2 separate regions of the Homo sapiens genome follow, and region 1 is linked to region 2. Evidence: promoter capture Hi-C in 16 types of primary human blood cells and fetal thymus (Javierre and others, 2016). All regions are on one chromosome and are shown on one strand. Each heading gives the region's core, a stretch centred on a gene start or on the middle of the fragment in contact. The rest is flanking DNA. Distances are from core to core; before and after follow the strand shown. Region 1 holds the start of GMCL2 (germ cell-less 2, spermatogenesis associated). Region 2 holds the start of SLC34A1 (solute carrier family 34 member 1).

The links. Contacts are between HindIII fragments. The CHiCAGO score rates a contact against its expected background, and 5 or more counts as called.
Region 1: a contact is called between a fragment that was not itself captured here and the fragment with the promoter of SLC34A1 in region 2, in 1 of 17 cell types (naive B cells). The highest score is 5.1, in naive B cells.

What each region holds. Positions count from the first base shown.
Region 1 is chr5:178,185,174-178,189,570 of GRCh38, reverse strand. GMCL2 (germ cell-less 2, spermatogenesis associated) reads left to right here and starts at 2,200. Exons shown (of 1, transcript NM_001358008.2): 1 at 2,200-4,397. The coding sequence starts at 2,272. The coding sequence ends at 3,852. The HindIII fragment of the contact is 3,617 bases long and covers 1-3,473 here.
Region 2 is chr5:177,383,184-177,387,437 of GRCh38, reverse strand. It overlaps SLC34A1 (solute carrier family 34 member 1), which reads right to left and starts at 3,004. Exons shown (of 13, transcript NM_003052.5): 1 at 2,951-3,004; 2 at 1,588-1,743; 3 at 1,302-1,451; 4 at 1,089-1,217; 5 at 872-1,015. The coding sequence starts at 1,696. The HindIII fragment of the contact is 19,795 bases long and covers 1-4,254 here.

The DNA.
Region 1 (4,397 bases), core at 416-2,915, 800 kb before region 2:
CCTAAAATGTATAAAACCAAACTATAACCCAACCATCTGAGGCACACTTTCTCAGGACCTCTTGAGACTGTACCCCAGGTCATGGTCACTCATATCAGCTGAGAATAAACTTCTTTTTTTTTTTTTTTTTTTGAGATGGAGTCTCGCTCTGTCACCCAGGCTGGAGTGCAGTGGCGCAAGCTCTGCCTCCCGGGTTCACGCCAGAGAATAAACTTCTTTAAACATTTTACAGAGCTTTTTTTTTTTTTTTTTTTTTTTTTTGGTCAACATAGACCATTCACCTGGCCCCTTAACTCCAACAGAAACTCCAGATTTGCCTTTGGAATCAGGAGGCTGAGCTTCCTGACTTCCCAACTCTGGGATTTAGAACAAGTCACTTTCCCTATTGAAACCTCTGTTTTCTTCATCTGGGAATGGGGCAGGCACTCACATAGGTTTGAGGAAGCCACAGGGCTGGTCACTCTTCACTTGTGTCCAGCGTCCCATCCACCTCCCTGGCATGACCTTGCCTCCCCCTGCAGCACTGGCCCATCTAGGGCTCCCCACACCTACATATCTGGCCCTGATGCCCCTCGCCAATCTCTGCCCCCACTGTACCAAAGATGGAGCCCCGCATGGCGACTCCTACATTGCTCTGGGGGCACAGACCTCCATCTGCCTGGAACAGCCTCCCACCTTCCTCATCAAGTCCTGTTTTCTTACAGGAAGACACCCACATGCCCCAGCCATCCCATCCCCAAGGACTGGCCAAGCAGTTCCAGCACACCCCTCGGGTGGTCTCAGTGTGTGCCCTTCTCCAGTTCCTCCGGGTCTGGGCCTGGGTCAGCCCTTTACACACACGGGGTTCCCAACAAGTAGCTTCCAGATGGCCTGGTGAGGCTGCAGGGCAAATTTCCAGGACCATGCCCCACTTCTCCACTCCATCCCCCAAGGACAAAAGCCTCCTCAATTCCGACATCCTAATCCTGCTGCCCCTGTCTCCACAGATCCTCCCCACAGAGAATCCCTGCCTATCCTGCCCAGGCCCTCTGCTTGCTTCTGCCTTCCCAGACCGGCTGCAGTGATCATTTCACCCAGCCATGGTCACTTTCACCATATTGGCCAGGCTGGTCTTGAACTCCTGACCTCGTGATCTGCCCACCTCGGCCTCCCAAAGTGCTGGGATTACAGGTGTGAGCAGCCACCGTACCTGGCTTGACTTCAAGTCTTTATTCTATTTTATTTTATCTTATTATTTTTTTCTGGAGACGGAATTTCGCTCTTGTCGCCCAGGCTGGAATGTAATGATGCGATCTTGGCTCACTGCAACTTCTGCCTCCTGGGTTCAAGCAGTTCTCCATTTCAGCCTCCCGAAAAGCTGGGATTACAGGCGTGCACCACCACACCTGGCTAAATTTTATATTATTAGTAGAGATGGGGTTTCACCATGTTGGCCAGGCCAGTCTCAAACTCCTGACCTCATGTGATCCACCCACCTTGGCCTCCCAAAGTGCTGGGATTATAGGCATGAGCCACCGAGCCTGGCCTATTTTATTTTATTATTTTATTTTATTTTTGTGCCTGGTCGCAAATTTACATTGGACTGGTTAGGCTCAAGCGTCTGGTACACACATTTTCCTTTGTCAGGTCTTGCAAATAAAACTTTGCTCCTAGGGAAGTGGTCCTTCTAAAACGGACCTTGGTTTTGGCTGCCAGATGAGAATTGCTTCCAGCAATGAAGAATGCTGTCCAAGGAGTTCAAGACCACCCGGAGAAACACAGTGAAACCTTGTCTCTAAAAGAAATTGTTTTAGGCCGGAGGCAGTGGCTCACGCCTGTAGTCCCAGCACTTTGGGAGGCCAAGGTAAGAGGATCACCTGAAGTCAGGAGTTTGAGACCAGCCTGGCCAACATGGGGAAACCCCGCCTCTACTAAAAATACAAAAATTACCCAGGTGTGGTGGCGGGCGCCTGTAATCCCAGCTACTCAGGAGGCTGAGGCAGGAGAATCACTTGAACCCGCGAGGCAGAGGTTGCAGTGAGCCGAGATCGCGCCACTGCACTCCAGCCTGGGCGACAGAGCAAGACTCCGTCTCAAAAAAAAAAAAAAAAAAAAATTGTGGGGGAGGGGTGCGGAGGTTGGAGGCGGCAGTGTCCGCTGCAACGGTTGGGGCTGCGCGTGAGAAGGTGGCGGTGTAGGCACCTGTGCTCGGGGAAGGCTGGCGGCGGCGGCCGGGCCATGGCCAGAGACCCCCTCCTCTGGGCTCCCTGAAGTCCTGGGGAGCCGTGACCCATGGGATCGTCGAGCAGCCGGGTGCTGGGCCAGCCGAGGCGAGCCCTTGCCCAGCAGGAACAGGGTGCCAGGGCCAGGGGCTCGGCCCGGAGGCCGGACACTGGAGACGATGCGGCGAGCTACGGCTTCTGTTACTGCCCGGGCAGTCACAAGCGCAAGCGGAGCAGCGGGGCCTGCCGCTACTGTGACCCGGACTCGCACAGGGAGGAGCATGAGGAGGAGGGGGACAAGCAGCAGCCGCTCCTCAACACCCCTGCAAGGAAAAAATTAAGGAGTACATCCAAATATATTTATCAAACATTATTTTTGAATGGTGAAAACAGTGACATTAAGATTTGTGCTCTAGGAGAAGAATGGCGATTACACAAAATATATTTATGTCAATCTGGCTACTTTTCTAGTATGTTCAGTGGTTCTTGGAAAGAATCCAGCATGAATATTATTGAACTGGAGATTCCTGACCAGAACATTGATGTAGACGCACTGCAGGTTGCGTTTGGTTCACTGTATCGAGATGATGTCTTGATAAAACCCAGTCGAGTTGTTGCCATTTTGGCAGCAGCTTGTATGCTGCAGCTGGATGGTTTAATACAGCAGTGTGGTGAGACAATGAAGGAAACAATTAATGTGAAAACTGTATGCGGTTATTACACATCAGTAGAGATCTATGGATTAGATTCTGTAAAGAAAAAGTGCCTTGAATGGCTTCTAAACAATTTGATGACTCACCAGAATGTTAAACTTTTTAAAGAACTCGGTATAAATGTCATGAAACAGCTCATTGGTTCCTCTAACTTATTTGTGATGCAAGTGGAGATGGATGTATACACCACTCTAAAAAAGTGGATGTTCCTTCAACTTGTGCCTTCTTGGAATGGATCTTTAAAACAGCTTTTGACAGAAACAGATGTCTGGTTTTCTAAACAGAGAAAAGATTTTGAAGGTATGGCCTTTCTTGAAACTGAACCAGGAAAACCATTTGTGTCAGTATTCAGACATTTAAGGTTACAATATATTATCAGTGACCTAGCTTCTGCAAGAATTATTGAACAAGATGGTATAGTACCTTCAGAATGGCTGTCTTCTGTGTATAAACAGCAGTGGTTTGCTATGCTGCGGGCAGAACAAGACCGTGAGGTAGGGCCTCAAGAAATCAATAAAGAAGACCTAGAGGGAAATAGCATGAGGTGTGGTAGAAAGCTTGCCAAAGATGGTGAATACTACTGGTGTTGGACGGGTTTTAACTTCGGCTTTGACCTACTTGTAATTTACACCAATGGATACATCATTTTCAAACGCAATACACTGAATCAGCCACGCAGCGGGTCTGTCAGTTTACGGCCTCGAAGGAGCATAGCATTTAGATTACGCTTGGCTTCTTTTGATAGTAGTGGAAAACTAGTATGTAGTAGAACAACTGGCTATCAAATACTTATACTTAAAAAGGATCAGGAACAAGTGGTGATGAACTTGGACAGCAGGTTTCTGACCTTCCCTTTATATATCTGCTGTAACTTCTTGTATATATCACCAGAAAAAGGAATTGAAAATAATCGTCACCCAGAAAATCCAGAAAACTGAAGATCTCATCAGTTGGAAACAGTAGCACTTTGAAAACTTTCAGGCCAGCTTTAATTTAATGGCCCTACTGATATTCACATCTAAGTTGACTAACAATGACAAAGGCCTTATGAACTGTACGGACAATACAGAAGACTATTCTTATCCTCATTGCATTTCTATGCATATACAAAAAAAATCATTTTAAAGCCAAGAAAATATCTGTCAAACCATTTCTGTCAGTACGATGTCAACTCATGCTTTTAATTCAGCATCAGCAGAAAATGACTGTAGGTAAATCTCACATTTATCTGCAACAAAATATAGATTTAATTTTTAGCTTAAACTTTGTTTCTACCTTATGTTAGTGGACCTCAGTTATCCATCTGTAAATTTATTTTTATTTGGCTAAAATAATCTAAAAGAATAATTTGGATGGCCAATTAGAAATGCTCTTTTGAGCTGGGGCATTTAAAGCTTTCCTTTAATATTTTTACCTGCTCATTATGATTCCTCCTTTTAGTCTAATATCTTTCCAGTTCATACTTGTTTTTAATCATTAAATA
Region 2 (4,254 bases), core at 1,755-4,254:
ATGCCCCAGAGTGTGATGGTTAGTTTTTTTGTTTGTTTGTTTTGAGACAGAGTCTCGCTCTGTCGCCCAGGCTGGAGTGCAGTGGCATGATCTCGGCTCACTGCAAGCTCTGCCTCCTGGGTTCATGCCATTCTCCTGCCTCAGCCTCCTGAGTAGCTGGGACTGCAGACACCTGCCACCACGCCTGGCTAATGCTTTTTGGTTTTTGTTGTTTTTTTTTTTTGTATTTTTAGTAGAGACAGGGTTTCACCGTGTTAGCCAGGGTGGTCTCGATCTACTGACCTCGTGATCTGCCCCCCTCAGCCTCCCAAAGTGCTGGGATTACAGGCATGAGCCACTGCGCCCGGCCAGTGATGGTTAGTTTTATGTGTCAACTTAGCTAGGCTGTGGTACCCAGTTATTCAACCCAACACTAGCCTGGGTGTTCTGTAAGGTGTTTTGTAGATGCAATTCACGTCTACAGTCAGCTGACTTTAAGAAAAGGAGATTATCCTTGGTAACCTGGGTCAGCCTAATCCAATAGAATGAAAGGCCTCAAGCAGAACTGAGGCTTCCCTGAGAAAGGAGAAACGCTGCCCTGTCTGGACTGCAGTGTCGGCGCCCACCTGAGAGTTCCCGCCTGCCCTTCCAATGCCCTGGCCTACGGATTCCTGACTTGCCCAGACAAACTACCATCGGGGAAGCCAGTTCCTTGCCATAAATCATCTGGGTCACATACAGCTACAGTTGGGCTCCTCTCATGTCCCTGGCTGATACAGGAGTCAAGCTGAATGGAGGCCAGCCTTACTGGGGTCACGCTCCCCATTTGCCACCCTTCCCAGCTCCTGGGGTGCCCCTCCAAGCTCTTCCCCACCCTGGTGGGCCAACTCACAGCCAGAGGAGACCATGCTGACGATGATGGATGTGGAGGTGCTGGAGCTCTGCACCAGCACGGTCACCAGGATCCCCACCACCAGCCCGGCCACCGGGTTGGACAGGATGGCGTTATCCTTGAAGATGTCACCAGCCACCTTCCCTGGGGAGCATGAGCCAGCGTTGTCCAAGGCCCTTCAGGAACCCCTCCCAGGTCTCCTCCACCCGGGCCCTACCTCCAGCCAGCTGGAAGGCCGAGCTGAGCATGTCCAGGGAGCAGACGAAGAGGTAGAGGAAGGTGAGCATCAGTGGCACCTTGAGCAGCATGGCGCCAGCCTGGCGCAGCTTGGGGACCAGCCTGGACTCTGGATGGGGGAAGCCATGAGCATAGTGGGCAGAGGCCAGGGCAGGGACTGCTGCCGCCTCTGCCACCCCCAGCCCAGGCCCACCTGGCTTCTGCTCCTCCTCCAGGGCCAGCTTGGCAGGCAGTGGTTCATGGCGCTCCAGGACCTCCCCACAGGGGCAGGTGTGCTCAGCAAGGGCCACAGGGCCCAGGCTGGGGAAGGCATAGGCAGAGGTCCCCGGGATCCTGTGTAGGACTAGGGAGGGAGCCTGGTCAGGAGCCCCAGGGCCCCAAAGTGGGGAGGCGGGGAGGAACAGGCGGGGGAAGTGGCCTCATCCGGGATGTGGGCAACCGTGGGCAACCAGGGTCCAGGGTGTGGGAGCAGCACTTACCCTGAGGGCTGGGCACGTAGGCAAAGGCCGTCCCTCGCATCACATGCCCCCCACGGACTGGGAGTGGGGAGACAGCAGGGGACCCCAGCCTCTCTCCGTAGGACAACATCCTGGGCACCCACTATGAGGTCTGCAGGTCAGTGGGTCTCAGCAACGCTGAATGACAATAGCTGTGTCCGGGACACTCATGCCCACACACCCTCACCTGCACAAACCCCCATGGCGCATGATTCCAAATACACACCTAGCAAAGCACACCCTCCATCCTCACCACACACACACACCCCTCCGAGACTCACACGCACAAACACACACCCAGCAAACCACACCCTCCATCATCACCACCACAGCCCTCCGAGACTCACATGCAGACTCACATGTGCACATCTGTGCTGGGCACCTGCATGTGAGTCTCGGAGGGGTGTGTGTGGTGGTGGTGAGGTGATCATTCATTCACCATTCACTCATTCAATGAGTATTATTGAGCTCTAGCCCAGGCTCCGAACCAGAGGCTTGGATATAGCATTGATAAAAGACACTGAGAACTGAGGACGCCCAGCCTGTTTGGGGCTGGAGGGGGCCAGGGAATACGTGGTGTTGGCAGTGGCTGCAGGTGTGGGCTGGGGCTGGGCCGGGCTTCAGTTTTGCCCACCTGGAGAGCAAGGAGGAGCTGCAGACACCTGCCTTCTCATGGGGTCAGCTGGGCACACACGGAGATCCCCTGGGCCGGATCCCGAGTTCCTGGGTTCCCCTCACAATGAATTCCTTTCCCCATCCACCCCCTCAAGGGGCAATGAACAAACACTGACAGGCTTGCCTCAGCCCCCCCTTGTCCCCGCACTGCCCCAGGAGTCTTGGCTATTGGGGTGGAGTGCCCTGATCTGCCTCAGCACTCCCCGCATTGTCCCAGCGTCCTTGGCTGTTGTAGGGGTGTGAAGAGTTGAATTCAAGTCCTGAAGGAGCAGGAGTCCTTTTTTTTTTTTTTTTTGAGATGGAGTTTCACTCTTACCGCCCAGGCTGGAGTGCAGTGGCACAATCTTGGCTCACTGCAACCTCTGCCTCGTGGGTTCAAGCGATTCTCCTGCCTCAGCCTCCCAAGTAGCTGGGATTACAGGTGCCTGCCACCACACCTGGCTAATTTTTTGTATTTTTAGTGCAAACTCGACCTCAGGTGATCCGCCCACTCGGCTTCCCAAAGTGCTGGGATTACAGGTGGGAGCCACCGCGATTGGCTGGACTGACATGTTATATGGGGCGCGGTGGGGGTGGGCGCAGATAGGACACAGATGAAGGGGCTGGGGTGCTGGGCTGTTTCCTACTCAGAGCTGGGGGTGGGGTTGGGATGTGAGGGTCCTGGGCTCACCTTAGAATTCTGTGTTTCAGCTTCTGCTCAGCAGCTCAATGAAGCCTCCAGGACCCTGAGGAGAACTGAGACCCTCCTCTTTATACTCTTGGGTCAAGGGCAAAGTCCCTGGAACCCTAGCTGCCCTCCCTCTGTCCCCCAATTAACCTCACCCCTGAGATTCCTCCCAGTTAATTGCTAATCGTCAGCTCTGCATGGGGAATCTATGGTCAGGTTCTTCCCATCAACCACGACCCAGACACATCCCCCGCCTGCAGGCAGAGACCCTGATGCCACTCAGCACCTTGTTCCCAGGGTCCCCTCGTTCCTGGCCTGACAGGACTCCCCAGGGAATGACCCAAACATCCTATGGCCTTCGGAGGTTGCAGTGAGCCAAGATCGTGCCACTGCACTCCAGCCTGGGTGACAGAGTGAGACTGTCTCAGAAAAACCAAACCAAACCAAACAAAAACATCCTATGGCCTTGCCAAGCGTCGGGGTGTCTGTAAGTCTCCCAGGGGGAGCTCAGAGGAGAGGGAGTGTGAGATGAGGACCTAAGCTGGAAAGGCCGTGGAATGTTGAATCGTGGCAGGTCTCTAATGCCCGACCATGGGTCCAGGATGTGAGTCTGAGTGAATGTGGAGCCGCTGGCCAGACTGGGATGGGCCTGATCTGCCTTTTAGAATGGCCCCCGGGGTGGAACCCGGATATATGGAAGGGAGCCTGGAAGCGGAGGGGCCAGTTAAGAGGCTAATGGTCCAGGCAGGAGATGATGAGGCCTGAACTCCGATGGGAACGGAGGGGCTGGGGAGGACAGGTGCATCCCAGGGACATCTGACCAGTAGAATTGGTGACGGGGAGGGAGAGAGGAAAAGGAAATAGATGGGAGTCGGGTCTCTGGATCTTTGGCTAGGGCTGGGTTCATGCCCAGGTAGGAGGGTGTCGCTGAGTCACGGAAATGCAATCAGTTCTCAGTTCTTGTGTCAGAATCTCTGGGTCCTTGGGCTTGAAGGTGCTGTTAATGTCACATCGAGTGTCTCCACCTATGAGCAAACTGACACCCCCACAGCGGGCCCAGAGACCCCGGCCCACGTGACCTGTTTCTCTCCATTCCCCCGTGCAGTTCAGACCCTTGGCAGGAGCAGCTGAATCCAAGGTGCTCCTGGTGAACTGGGGGTGTTTCTCCTTTTTAATAAGGTTGTGCTTTTTGATATTTTTGAAGTTTGCCTTCCCTGCTGTCACGGAGCTCTGGGTTTAGTGGGGGAGGCAGTTAGCTATCGATCAAATCCATCAAGAGATATAATTCCAAAATGCTGCTGATTTAC